Linked DNA regions of Homo sapiens: all the other regions are linked to region 4. The links are contacts of gene promoters, found by promoter capture Hi-C in blood cells and fetal thymus (Javierre and others, 2016). All regions are on one chromosome and are shown on one strand. Each heading gives the region's core, a stretch centred on a gene start or on the middle of the fragment in contact. The rest is flanking DNA. Distances are from core to core; before and after follow the strand shown.

Region 1 (2,700 bases), core at 13-2,512, 350 kb after region 4:
AGGTTATAGATAAAAGAGGGAAAGGTAATCTGGTGATACTACTGGGCAGGAATCTTTAAATTATTTAAAGAGGGTGTAAACGAAGGAATGTACAAAAGTAAAAATAGGCAGGGAAGAAAAGACCTGATGGAAGTAACATATCTTTGTTAGGAATTTGAGTGTCTAGCATTATAGTGGACAGTCCAATGATATGGTTTACAACAGTTATATAGGTATTAGACCTGGCCATTACTTACTATGTAATGTTGAGTACATGATTTGAACCACTCTCAATCTTAGCTTCTTTATCGTTAAAACAGAAATAGTTTGTAATGTTTGAATTAGTAAGAATAAAGGACACAGTGTCAGATGTGTCAGAAGGAAGCATGATTAGGGCATTAAGTGAGAAGTTAAATAAATAGGAGGGGAAAAAGGCCACCCCTTGCTCTTTTTCTCTTTTGGACCTTTTTGGTGACAGAGACAGAAAGAATGTGTATAGTATATTTAATTATCTGAAAATACAGAGCTGAGCATCCCTAATCTGAAGTTTAAAATGCCCCTACATCCAAAATTTTTTGAGTGCCATTATGGTCTGAGAGCAGACATTGTGTATGATTGCTGTTTTAAATTTGTTGAGGTGTGTTTAATGGCCCAGAATTTGGTCTGTCTTGTTGAATGTTTCATGTAAACTTGAGAAGAATGTGTATTCTGTAGTTGTTGTCTTAGGTAGTCTATAGACGTGCATTATATATCCAGTTGATTGATGATGCTGTTAAGTTCATCTGTGTCCTTACTCATTTCCTGCTTGCTTGATCTGTCCATTTCTGATAGAGGAGTACGGAAGTCTTCAACTATAATAGTGGATTCAAATATTTCTCCTTGCAGTTCTATCAGTTTTGGCTCACATATTTTTATGCACAATTGTTAGACACATATGGATTAAGGATTATGCTGTCTTCTTGGAGAACTGACCCCTTTATCATGATGTAAAGCCACCCTATCCCTGATAACTTTACTTGCCATGAAATCTGCTTTATCTGAAATTAATAACTAGTCTCATTTTATTTTTGTGTTAGCTGATATATTTTTTTCCATCCATTTGCTTTTAATCTGTGTGTGTTTGTATATTTAAAGTGGATCTCTTGTAGACAGCATATAGTTAGGTCTTGGTTTTTAATCCACTCTGACAATCTTTTAATTGGTACATTTAGACCATTCACGTTCAGAGTGATTACTGATAGCATTGGATTAATGTCTACCATATTTGCCACTATTTTCTGTTGTCATTGTTCTTTGTTCCTATTTTTTTTTTTGTCTTCCACTGTTTTTCTGCCTTTTGCAGTTTTAATTCAAAATATCATATGACTGTCCTTTCTTAGCATGTCAGTTTTACTTCTTTTTTTTTTTACTTTTTTTGTTTTTGGTCTTTTCTAAAGAGACAAGGTGTCGCTTAGTTGCTTAGGCTGGAATGCAGTGGCATGTCATAGCTCACTGTAACCTCAAACTTCTGGGCTCACGTGATCCTCCTGCCTCAGCCTCCTGAGTAGCTAGGACTACAAGTGTGTGCCACCAACCCTCAAGTAATGTTTTTTATTTTTTGTAGAGAGAAGGTCTTACCATGTTGCCCAGGCTGTCAAACTCCTGGCCTCAAGCAATCCTCCTGCCTTGGCTTCCCAAAGTATTGGGATTATAGGCATGAGCCACTGTGCCCAGCTGGGTGTTTTCACTTTTTTAAGTGGTTGCTCTGGCATTTGCAATGTATATTTCCAGCAAATCCAAGTCCATTTTCAGGTAACACTGTACCACTTTATGGATGGTGAGATTACTTTATAATGACAAAGTAACCCTAATTCTATCCCTTGTATCATTGCTGGCATTATCTCACTTACAAATAAACATACACACACAAGCATATATAACCAAATACATGTTTGCTGCTATTCTGAATAAACGTATCAGATCAATTAATAAGAAAAATAAAAGTTTTAATTTTACTTTCATTTATTCTTTCTCTCATTTCTTCTTCCTTTCTTTATGTAGATGTGAATTCCAGACTAGAATAATTTGTCTTCTCTCTAAAAAATTTATTTTAACATTTCTCACAAGGTAGGTCTGTGGCAACAGATTCTCTTAATCTTTTCTGGGGGACAGGGTCTTGCTCTGTCTGTCATCCAGGCTATAATGCGGTGGCATGATCATGGCACACTGCAGCCTTGACCTGCTGGGCTCAACCAGTCCTTTTGCCCTAGCCTCCGGAGTAGCAGAGACTACAGGCATGCACCGCCATACTCACTTAAGTTTTTTTTTGTTTCTGTTTTTGTAGAAACGAGGTCTCACTGTGTTGCCCAGGTTGGTCTTGAACTCCTGGGCTCAAACCATCCACCCACCTCAGCCTCCCAAAGCATTAGGACTACAGGCATGAACCACCTTGCCCAGCCTTAATTTTTGTTTGTTGAGAAAGTTTTTATTTCTCTTTGGTTTTTGAAGGATAATTTTGCAAGGTTCAGGATTCTAAGTTGGTGGGTTTTTTCTTCTCAATATGATATTTTGTCACTCTCTTCTTGCTTGCCTAGTTTCTGAAACAGAGTCAGATGTAATTCTTATTATACTTGCTCCTCTTTAGGTAAGATGATTTTTTTTCCTCTGGCTTTTTAAACGATTTGTTTATCTTTTTTTTTTTTTTGTAGTTTGAAAGTGATATGCCTACATAAGTTATTTCTG
Region 2 (2,700 bases), core at 14-2,513, 430 kb after region 4:
TGAAGGCAGAGGTTGCAGTGAGCCAAGATAGTGCAACTGTACTCCAGCCCAGGTGGCAGAGCAGGACCCTGTCTCAAAAAAAAAAAAAAGAATCTACTTGTAAAACTTGAACAGATATAGGAATATCTTATGAGAGTATTGCTGTCATTTTAATATGATCAGTATTCTGGAGATATTCATTTATCTTCTCATGTCCTAGGAATGTGGGAATGTGTCTAGAGAATCTGAACTTCACAGAGTCTTTATTTATTTATTTTATTTATTTTGAGACAGAGTCTTGCTCTGTCACCTAGGCTGGAGTGCAGTGGCGTGATCTCAGCTCACTGCAACCTCTGCCTCCCGAATTCAAGTGATTCTCCTGACTCAGCTTCCTGAGTAGCTGGGATTACAGGCGCACGCTACCATGCCTGACTAGGGTTTTGTGTTTTTAGTAGAGACGGGGTTTTGCCATGTTGGTTAGGCTGGTCTCAAACTCCTGATCTTGTGATCCGCCTGCCTTGGCCTCCCAAAGTGCTAGGATTACAGGCGTGAGCCACCATGCCTGGCCCACAGAGTCTCTTTTAAGGGGAAACCTGGTGTACCATGTGATTACTGCCAGTTATCTGGTTGGATAAAAAAAGGTTGATCACCTGGGGGGAGAAAAAAAAGCAAAAACTCTGAGGTGGGGTCCAGTGGCTCACCCCTGTAATCCCAGCACTTTGCGGGGGCCGAGGCAGGCAAATCACTTGAGGCCAGGAGTTGGAGACCAGCCTGGCCAACATGGCAAAACCCCATCTCTACTAAAAATACAAAAATTAGCCAGGTGTGGTGGCATGTGCCTGTAGTCCCAGCTACTCAGGAGGTTGAAGCACAAGAATTGCTGGAACCCAGGAGGTAGAGGTTCCAATGAGCCAAGATGGTGCCACTGCACTCCAGCCTGGGTGACAGAACAAGACTCTATCTCAAAAGAAAAACAGAACACAAAAACTTAAATATACAAGCCCTCAAGAAGTTTGCTTCATATAAAGTTCTTAAAAAGCAACAAAGCCTGGGCAACATAGTAAACCCTATCTTCTTCTTTGGTTTTTTTTTTTTTTTGAGACAGGATCTCATTCTTTCACCCAGGCTGGAGTGCAGTGGCATGATCAGAGCTCCCTGCAGCCTTGACCTCCCCAGGCTCAGGTGATCCTCCTACCTCAGCCTTCCTAGTAGCTGGGACTACAAGCATGCATTGCCACATCCAGTTAATTTTTTTGTATTTGTTAAAGACACAGGGTTTTGCCATATTGCCCAGGCTGCTCGCTCTCTCTCTCTCTCTCTCTCTCTCTCTCTCTCTCTCTCTCTCTCTCTCTCACTCTCACTCTCACTCGCGCTCTCTCTCTCGCTCTCTCTCTCTTTTTTTTTTTTTTTTTTTTTTTGGAGACAGTCTTGCTCTGTCGCCCAGACTGGAGTGCAGTGGCGTGATCTCAACTCACTGCCATCTCCACCTCCTGGGCTCAAGCAATTCTCCTGCCTCAGCCTCCCAAGTATCTGGGACTGCAGGTGTGTGCCACCACACCTGGCAAATTTTTGTATTATTAGTAGAGATGGGGTTTTACTGTGTTGCTCAGGCTGGTCTCAAACTCCTGAGCTCAATTGATCCACCCACCTTGGCCTCCCAAAGTGCTGGGATTACAGGCGTGAGCCACCATGCCTGGCCCCTATTTCTTTAAGGAAAAAAATAAAGGCAACTAGAGGGTATAACCCACCCGAACAAAGGAGTATACCCAGAAAGAGGAAAATGAGACCTGGGAAACAGGAGAATCTGAAACCAGAGAGAACATTAGCTCTGTGATGGACTAGGGAACCAGTAGTCCACACTGGAGCAGGAGGCCAAAAGTTACTAACAAGGATGTCTGTGGTATTGATACTTACTATGTGTGCTTGTCATTATTGAGAGGAGGTATACCAATCTGCAAGAAAGTTAGAAGAAAAGCTGAGTAACTGATGATGCATAGAGAGCTAAGCCATCAGAAATCCAAGGCAGTCATTAGGGGAAAACAAGACACTATAGAAGAAAAGATACGAAATCATGGTGTCATAGATGGGAATACTATCTGCAGTCATACGACTGAGGTAATGAAAAATTACAATATAACAGTATTGGAAAGATAGAGAAGGACACTTCCACAGTAGGAAGTCAGTAGAAAATGTGTGAAACAAAGATCAAGAAATAACTTTTGAAATAGTCTGAAATACAGAGGTGTAAATTTTAGAAGCAGCTATAAAAAAATGTTGAAAGTTGATGCCTCTGGCTAACAGGAGGGCTGCGGGGCAGAGACTATGTTTTTCATTCAAAGTCTTGTATTTGACTTTTTAAACAGTATATGTGTATTACCTTGATGAACATTAAATTTTCTTAGTCTGAAAAACTGCAGTTTTTATTCGCAACCAGATTGTAATGGCTCTTAATATGCTACTCTTAGCTACATAATTCTCAGGTATCAACTTGTTTAACAGTCTTAAAATGCCCTTTTTAAATGTTTGTTTTTCAGTTGCCTTGTTGAAGGGGATGCTAAAGAAGAAATACTGCAGCCACCGGAACCTCATCCAGTGCCACCCATCTTGACACCTTCTCCCCCTTCAGCTTTTCCAACAGTCACTACTGTGTGGCAGGACAATGATAGATACCATCCAAAGCCAGTGTTGCATATGGTTTCATCAGAACAACATTCAGCAGAC
Region 3 (2,700 bases), core at 77-2,576, 380 kb after region 4:
GAGACAGGGTTTCACCATGTCGGCCAGGCTGGTCTCAAACTCCTGACCTCAGGTGATCCACCCGCTTCAGCCTCCCAAAGTACTAGGATTACTGGTGTGAGCCACTGCACCTGGCCTGGAAATTTATATTGAAAGTAATTGTACTGAGAGATATGTGCTTATTTACTGTTAGATAACTATTTAATTCATTGCCCGGGCACAGTGGCTCATGCATGTAATCCCAGCACTTTAGGAGGCCAAGCTGGGCAGATTATTTGAGCTCAGGAGTTCAAGACCAGCCTGGGCAACATAGCAAAACTCAACACACACACGCACGCACGCACGCACACACACATACTCTCTCTTTCTCTCTCTCGTGTGTACACTTGTGGTCCCAGCTACTCAGTAGGCTGATGTGGGAGGATCACTTGAGACCAGGAGGTCAAGGCTGCAGTGAACTATGATTGCACCACTGCACTCCAGCCTGGGTAACAGAGCGAGACTGTCTCAAAAAATAAGATGGAGAAGAATTTAATTCACTAACTTCCTTTGCATGTTTTAACATGTGCAGTGCTTGCAGAAATAGAATTTTTAAAACAGGTTTGAGGTATAATTTACATACCCATGAAATTTATCCATTTTAATTGTGCAATTCAATGATTTTTTTAAAGTAAATTTATAGAGTTTTGCAACAATTAATACAATCTAGTTTTAGGACATTTCCATCACCCCTAAAAGATCTGAGTCTTCAGCCCTGGGCAGCTGTTAATCAGCTTTCTGTCTGTATAGATTTTCCTTTTCTGTGAATTTAATATAAATGTAATCATACAATATATAGTCTTTTGTGTCTAGCTCTTTTAACAGTTTTTTTTTGAGATGAAGTCTCATTCTGTTGCCCAGGCTGGAGTGCAGTGGCATGATCTCGGCTCACTGCGACCTCCGCCTCCCAGGTTCATGAGATTCTCCTGTCTCAGCCTCCTGAGTAGCTGGGATTATAGGCGCACATCACCATGCCTGGCTAATTTTTTGTGTTATTTTTAGTAGATACAGGGTTTCACTATGTTGGCCAGACTGGTCTCGAACTCCTGACCTCGTGATCCGCCTGCCTCGGCCTCCCAAAGTGCTGGGATTACAGGCTTGAGCCACTGTGCCCAGCCTCTTGTTAACACATTTTAAAGATTCATTCACGATGTAGCATGCATCGATAGTTCATTCCTTTTTGTTGTTGAATAATATTCCATTGTATGAATGATGAACATATTGAATAATGCTGCTATGAACATGTCATACAACTCTCTGTGTGGACCTATGGTTTTGTTTCTCTTGGTTGGATAGCTAGCAAAACCATGGAGAGGAATAATTGTTTTCATTTTTTTGATATTTAGATTATTTCTAAATATGCTTAATAAGAGCACCAATCTGGCAGGGCGAGGTGACTCATGTCTGTAATCCCAGGACTTTGGGAGGCCGAAGCGGGCAGATCACTTGAGATCAGATCAAGACCAGCCTGGCCAATACGGTGAAACCCCGCCTCTACTAAAAATACAAAAATTAGCTAGGCATGATGGCACGTGCCTGTAGTCCCAGCTACTTGAGAGGCTGAGGCACGAGAATCACTTGAACCTGGGAGGCAGAGGTTGCAGTGAGCCAAGATGGTGCCACTGCACTCCAACCTGGGTGACAGAGCCAGACACTGTCTCAAAAAAAAAAGAGCACCAATGAAGAATATTAAAACAGCCACCCAAGTTCTTTCTCGCTACTTCTAGTTCCCGGCGCTTTGCCGGGTGTTAATGGTGGCCCAAAATCATGGGTGCTGTGGCTTTCTCCCTAAGGTGTCACAGGAGCTAAGGGTGCCACTTAACAAACTGCAGAAGATGCAGGCAGGTGAAGGACACCCAGTCTGCTGTGGCAGTGGAATGTGGCAGAAAAGCCAGCTGGGAGGGCGGGGAGCAATCCTGGAAGGCCTGGCTGACCCCACAATTGAACAGGGTTTGGTGTGTCATTGCTTTTAGGCCTTTTCAGTGGACAGAACTGGGGTGGATATACACTCATTTATTTGAAATCATGCATTTGTTCCATACTCCAATTCCAGCCCACCCCTTCTTTGCTCTATGGTCAAGTGAGTGAGAACAGGCGGCTACATTTTCAGCCTTGTTGCTCACCGCTTCCTTCCAGTAGTCCCATGTTGCTTCATATCTCTTCAGTACATGTATTATTTAGACCCAGAGCCTTGGCTTTTAAATCAGGCAGCCCCAGTTTCAAATGTGTCACTGCCATCTCAGTTTTGTGATTTGGGCATACCTCTGTCTGTGCATAGCGATATTAACTTCTATCTCCATGGGTGTGTGGTGAGGATAAAATTATGTGCTTAGAGGAAACGTTCATTCCATGGTAGCTATTTTTTATTAATTCTATACTTTTGAACCTATTATGCTACCTATAATGCCCTATTTTTTTTTTCTTTTTAATCATTGGCAAACTTCTCATTCCCTGAGACCCAGCTTGTCACACCTCTGAAGACTGCTGATATCCTCAAGATGTTCCTTACTCCCTTTCCTTGCTACTACTTTACTATGGATATATGAACAACATTATTGTGCTTATTACATGCAATAAATATTTATTGGATGAATGATACTAAAATTCACATTTAAAATGCCAAAATCAAAATACACATGATATGCTGTATAAGTAGCATAATGTTGATTTTTAAATCTAATG
Region 4 (2,700 bases), core at 195-2,694:
GTGGTCCCAGTGACTCAGGTGAAAAGCCAAGGTTTGGAGAGTCAATACCACTGTTAGTTCGTGGGTGGAGTAGGCGATTAAGTCTGTGGAATTTCACATGTATTTATTAAAGTTAATTCAAGTAATTTGGATGGTGAGGATGGGTTCTACTTCTATCTGCTTGAATTCTAACTTCAGGTAAAAGAGAAAGAAATATGAATACCTTCCCTTAGTGGCATGCTAAAACTCTCCCCTTAAAATATTTTTTGTGCCACTAGGTCTCAAAGCAAAAATTTGTGCACACATATGAAACTGCTTTTATTCCATCTGTAAACTCTCCCATTTTCTCCAGATATTTGGGATTAAGAACTAGATTACTTGCTAAAATCTTTCAAAGACCTCTTTAGCCATGAGAAGCGGCAGTCAGTCAATCACAAGAAAAACTGATTTCCAACAAACAAGGCACAATTGTGAACATCGCCTTATCTTTATTGTTTTCAAACACCTCATTGAAGAGACAAGTTAAATGCACTAAAACATCAAGAAATTCTCTCTACTTCTGCTTGCAAGTAGGTCTGGCATTAACAAATAAGATCTTAAAATTGAAAGTGACTTCCAGTGGATACAGAACTAACTATGATTTTTGTAATTAGGTCATATTTATGTGGTCATATTTGAGAAGATATTTATTTTTTCCTGTGCACCTTGATAAATAAAAGACTTAATCTGTCATCTATTTAACTTACTGACTCAGGTTAATGTTTATAGATACTCTCTAGCTGTATAACATTTATGAACATATGATAAGAAAACATTATTATACATACCTGGACGTGACTGTATTTGTTCTTGGCTGGGACACTTTGAACATTTGCCATCCAAACTATTGACAACAAATGTTAGATTTGCCACTTTGCTGTCAACATAATTTTCTATGTTGTTCATATTTACAAGATTCAGCTTCTCCAGGCGACCATGAAGTACATTGATCTCCTCTTTGGCATTCTTTAGCTCAGAGGACAGCTTGTTAACCTCACTCTCTAATTCTCTAACTCTGTTATCACCAACCTCTCCCGGGGCTCCTGTACTGGGTAACAACAGTCCGTTTCTGCCTGGGTCTCCGTTGTCATCAGCCTGCAGCTTGCAGTCTTGGCAAGATTTCTTTAGACTATTTACGATTTCCTTGAGGTTTTGGACTTCTTTGAACACCTCCTCGATCCTGCTGAATTGCTTCGGGAGCTGAATAGTCAAGGGGGGCAGGCTTACCTGGTAGGGGCACTCCCCTGCCTCTTCGCATTTCCCTCTGCTTTCTAGTCTCACTGGGCAGACATCCTTTGCTCTTTCATCTTTAATTTCCTCTGTTTCATTGTTTGCCACAACCAAAAAACCGTAAGTGGCAAGAACAGCTGAGCTCAGCCAGTACCAGTTAGCCAGCTTCATCTTTACAGTGCTGCTCACCCCAGCAGGGAGTGCGCAGGGCTGGAGCTGCTTTAATAGCGGCAGCTGCCTGAGTCAGGCTTTCTGTGTTCCCAGGAAAGGGTGGGAGCGTTTGCATCACAAGTTTTAGAAACGCACAGGAAGAGGAGATAGCCCTCATCAAACGCAGTTTGCCAAAAACTGTAACTTACTCTCAATAGAAATAATATGCATTGAAATTATTATAGTCAAATGTACACAGCCAACAAGATTCACTTTCATAATGTATTTTATGAAGTATAAGAAAAGTCTTGCATTTCTAAAGTAATTTGGTATACTTACGCTTGAAGTAAATAATTATACGTAACTTCACTGGAAAAACAGTTTTTAAAGATAAAAAGTAAGAGCTAGTTATCCAAACTGTCTATAGAACAGAAACGTTACTAAAATGAAAATGGTCCTTTTTCCTTCTTAGAATGGGGCATTGGGGAGCCTGTATTTTCTTCATGTTGGACTTTCAGGTGAAATCTTAAGCACTTTTAGAAGTTTCTAAGTGTAACAAAGTACAGCTTTCTGACTATTGCAGTTGACTTTTGCTTCATCTACTTGAAAAAGAGAAGAAAACTAGTGGAGAAAAAAGTGCTACTTTCTATTCCTTTGTCCGTAGCATAGTGTATATTAATGTCTAAATGTCTAAGACCCATTTAAAAGGACATAATTGTCTTTCATCAAAACCAGTAGCTGCCTCCTTTGCCCTTCGACATTTTGGTAATTGTACTGTCATCTTCCACAGCTGCTCAAATGTGAATCTTTGAGCTATGCCAGTGTCTGTCCTGAACTTCTCTTGCCTACAGCATCTTTGCCCTTTCTTTCTGCAGGTAGCCCTGGCAGGCGGGCCTCTTGCTTTCTGTCTCCACGCTGGTTCTTCTACCTGCTCTCTGGGCCACTTGGTATATCAGCTTGTTCAAAACATGTAGCATTAATGATAATAGTTTTCTAACTTTCTCTTCAGAGGCTGAAGGCAGGAAAGAGGAACAGCTTCAGTTAGAGAAACCACCTCCTTTTAATTTGTTTTGCATATTGACATCTCATAAGATTTCTTGTTTAAAAAGGGTTTTTTTGCTTTAAAAATAATTTCAAAATGACTGACATGGGCAAAAATCTAAATGTTTTATTGTATTACTTAAAACACTCTGTAGCCTATCTCATATTTATGTCTTTAACCTGATTTCCTATGACTTTTCTGTATATCCCCTTAATTTTAGCCAAATCCTATTCACATTCTCAAAATGTTGGCAGACTCTT
Region 5 (2,700 bases), core at 171-2,670, 310 kb after region 4:
ATGGAATAACAGGAAGACATTGCCACGCTATGGTTTTCCCTCCTATATGTACTCTACATTTTGAGTGTGCTAGATACTTTACAGAATGAAGAGCTGATTTTCATGAAGTTAAGATTATTCAGTGCCTGAGTATCCAATTTGAAGACTACCTATGTCTTTTAGACATTATATTTCCCATTAATACCTCCAGTGAATGTCAGCTGGGAAAATGAGAGGAAACTCAAGTTAGCTGATGGAAGCTTCCTATTAATAGCTCTGTAGAAAAGTATGGTAGGGAGTTTGAAATTATTATTGAAGATGAAAATGAGGAAATACCCATAGATCGATTAGCTGTACTTGAGACGTGTTTATTTAAACATGTACATTCTAACGATAGTATTTTTATTCAGAGGGACCTTTGATAAAAGAGAACCTAGATGAGACAACAAAGTAATTTTTATATCCAGTGACCATACACTCCTGATTTTTCAGAACAGTTCCCATTTTAAATATTATGTCTGTTATTAATGCCCAACATGTCCTACCATGTATCCTGATTTATGACATAAATATGTCACAATATTTATAGGAACATTTGAGACACTTTTGAAAGGTCTCCTGGTGAACTTCATCTAGGTACTTCCAATAGACATTAAGTGGATTTTAGCAATTGCTCCACAATCCTTCCTAAGAAATTTTACAACTTCATATAAACATATAGAATAAAACCTCTTGTGCTATCCATTTGGAGTTAATGGAACCACCGTTCATTCAGTGGGAAACTGAGAATCATGAGTCCTCCCTCTCAGCCTCTTCACCCAGTAAGTCGCTTTTTATAGCTTGAATGTTTGTATTCCCCTCAAAATTCATATGCTGAAACTCCAACCCCCATTGTGATGGTATGAGGAGGTGGGGCCTTTGGCAAGTAATTAGGTTTAGATGAAGTCATGAGGGTGGAGGCCCCATGATAGGATTAGTGCCCTTATAAGAAGAGGAAGGGAAACCAGAGCTCCTTCTCTCTTTAAGGATACAGTAAGAAGGTGGCCATCTACAAGCCAGGAAGAAAGCCCTCACCAAGAATTGAATCTGCTTGTGCCTTGATCTTGGACTTTCCAGCTTCCAGAATAATGAAAAATAAATGTCTGAGTTTAAGCCACCCAGGCTATGGCATTTGGTTAAGGCAGCCCGAGCTAAGACATTTCTATATCTTGTACCATCCCTTCCCAATTGGCCTCACCATTTATCCTCCACAGTAAGCCAGAATGGTCTCTGAAAGAGCAAATACGTTCATGTTAACTCCACCTTAAGATAATCTTCCATGACTCCCCATTGCTGCAGCAGGGGGAGTAAGCTCAAATGTCTGCAGGGATAGCTAGGTAACCTAAATATGGAGGGGTGAGCCTGAGGAGACAGAAGACTAGAGAATGTACGTCTTTTTAAAGACATTCAAATTCAAGAAAAAAAAACCTACATCAAACAAAGAATATTTGTGGGCAAGATTCCTCCTGTGGGGTGAGAGTTTTAATTATTTTAACTTGTTAGCATAGTAGAACAAGTATCTTCATTATCTGGCTCCTATAAACAAAGATAATCTTCCGTGACTCCCCATTGCTGCAGCAGGGGGAGTAAGCTCAAATGTCTGCAGGGATAGCTAGGTAACCTAAATATGGAGGGGTGAGCCTGAGGAGACAGAAGACTAGAGAATGTACGTCTTTTTAAAGACATTCAAATTCAAGAAAAAAAAACCTACATCAAACAAAGAATATTTGTGGGCAAGATTCCTCCTGTGGGGTGAGAGTTTTAATTATTTTAACTTGTTAGCATAGTAGAACAAGTATCTTCATTATCTGGCTCCTATAAACATACATCATCCTCTCCAATTATTCTCAGTTGTGTGCTCCTCTCTGAAATTGCCAAGCATTTTTGCCCATGCCTCTTCCTCTGTCCAGAATGTCCTACTGGTGAATTTCTACTCATTCTTGAAGGCTTATTACCTCTGAGAAGTTTTCCTTGATATACCTAAGCTGAAATTAGTACTTTTCTTCTGCATTCCAGAACACATATTCATATGCTGTTTAGATATACAACTTATCTCACTGCTGTAATTAGCTTTTATGTCTGTTTCATCTAAACACCACACACATAGCTCATGGTGAGTGTTGAATTCATCTTGATGTCCCCAGCATTTTACGTGGTACCTACGCACAGGCACTTGGAAAACATGCTGGATAGACAGATGGCCTGCTTAACTAAATGAAATGATTGATCCAAACAGTATTTTAGAAGAAGTGCAGTTTTCAACATTTCAAGTGTACAGAGTAGGTCCACTCGCCTACAAAGTGTTGCCAAGTGGAAGCCACTGTCAGAAATGTATTAATGACAGACAAGTCTTAGGTATGATTGGCATCCTCATTTATGTGAAGAAATGAAGCCAAAGGAAAGCACCCTTAGACCAACCTTCTTCCCTCCCCAACCACATGGAAAGAACTTGCATGCTAATGGTCAAAAGTTGGAGCTGGGAGTCAGAGATTCCTGGTAGAATTTCAGCATTACCATCTAGAAACAGTGAAACTTCAGGCAACTTACTTAATCTCTCTAAATCTGATCATCTTGTTTGTAAAATAAGCTTGATAATAGTACTTAATGAGAAAAAATATGTAAAGCATTTGGTATAGTATCTGGCACACAGTAAGCACTCATCACATATTGATAATTCTGGTA

The links. The method cuts DNA at HindIII sites, captures the fragments that hold promoters and counts their contacts. A CHiCAGO score of 5 or more calls a contact.
Region 1: a contact is called between a fragment that was not itself captured here and the fragment with the promoter of FGL2 in region 4, in 1 of 17 cell types (neutrophils). The highest score is 6.0, in neutrophils.
Region 2: a fragment that was not itself captured here is called in contact with the fragment with the promoter of FGL2 in region 4 in 1 of 17 cell types (monocytes); the score reaches 5.4 in monocytes.
Region 3: a fragment that was not itself captured here is called in contact with the fragment with the promoter of FGL2 in region 4 in 1 of 17 cell types (monocytes); the score reaches 5.6 in monocytes.
Region 5: a contact is called between a fragment that was not itself captured here and the fragment with the promoter of FGL2 in region 4, in 1 of 17 cell types (monocytes). The highest score is 5.2, in monocytes.

The regions. Positions count from the first base shown.
Region 1 is chr7:77,552,571-77,555,270 of GRCh38, forward strand. The region is part of intron 1 of PTPN12 (protein tyrosine phosphatase non-receptor type 12); the gene reads left to right. Among named protein-coding and RNA genes, the nearest start is that of PTPN12, 17 kb to the left of the region's middle. The HindIII fragment of the contact is 3,345 bases long and covers 1-2,700 here.
Region 2 is chr7:77,624,192-77,626,891 of GRCh38, forward strand. It overlaps PTPN12 (protein tyrosine phosphatase non-receptor type 12), which reads left to right. Exons shown (of 18, transcript NM_002835.4): 13 at 2,514-2,700. Among named protein-coding and RNA genes, the nearest start is that of APTR, 71 kb to the right of the region's middle. The HindIII fragment of the contact is 4,744 bases long and covers 1-2,700 here.
Region 3 is chr7:77,575,018-77,577,717 of GRCh38, forward strand. All of the region lies in intron 2 of PTPN12 (protein tyrosine phosphatase non-receptor type 12), which reads left to right. Among named protein-coding and RNA genes, the nearest start is that of PTPN12, 39 kb to the left of the region's middle. The HindIII fragment of the contact is 3,824 bases long and covers 1-2,700 here.
Region 4 is chr7:77,198,375-77,201,074 of GRCh38, forward strand. It overlaps FGL2 (fibrinogen like 2), which reads right to left and starts at 1,445. Exons shown (of 2, transcript NM_006682.3): 1 at 807-1,445. The coding sequence starts at 1,419. All of the region lies in intron 2 of CCDC146 (coiled-coil domain containing 146), which reads left to right. RefSeq lists a silencer at 1,036-1,145. The HindIII fragment of the contact is 5,002 bases long and covers 1-2,700 here.
Region 5 is chr7:77,511,885-77,514,584 of GRCh38, forward strand. No RefSeq gene overlaps it. Among named protein-coding and RNA genes, the nearest start is that of PTPN12, 24 kb to the right of the region's middle. The HindIII fragment of the contact is 2,366 bases long and covers 238-2,603 here.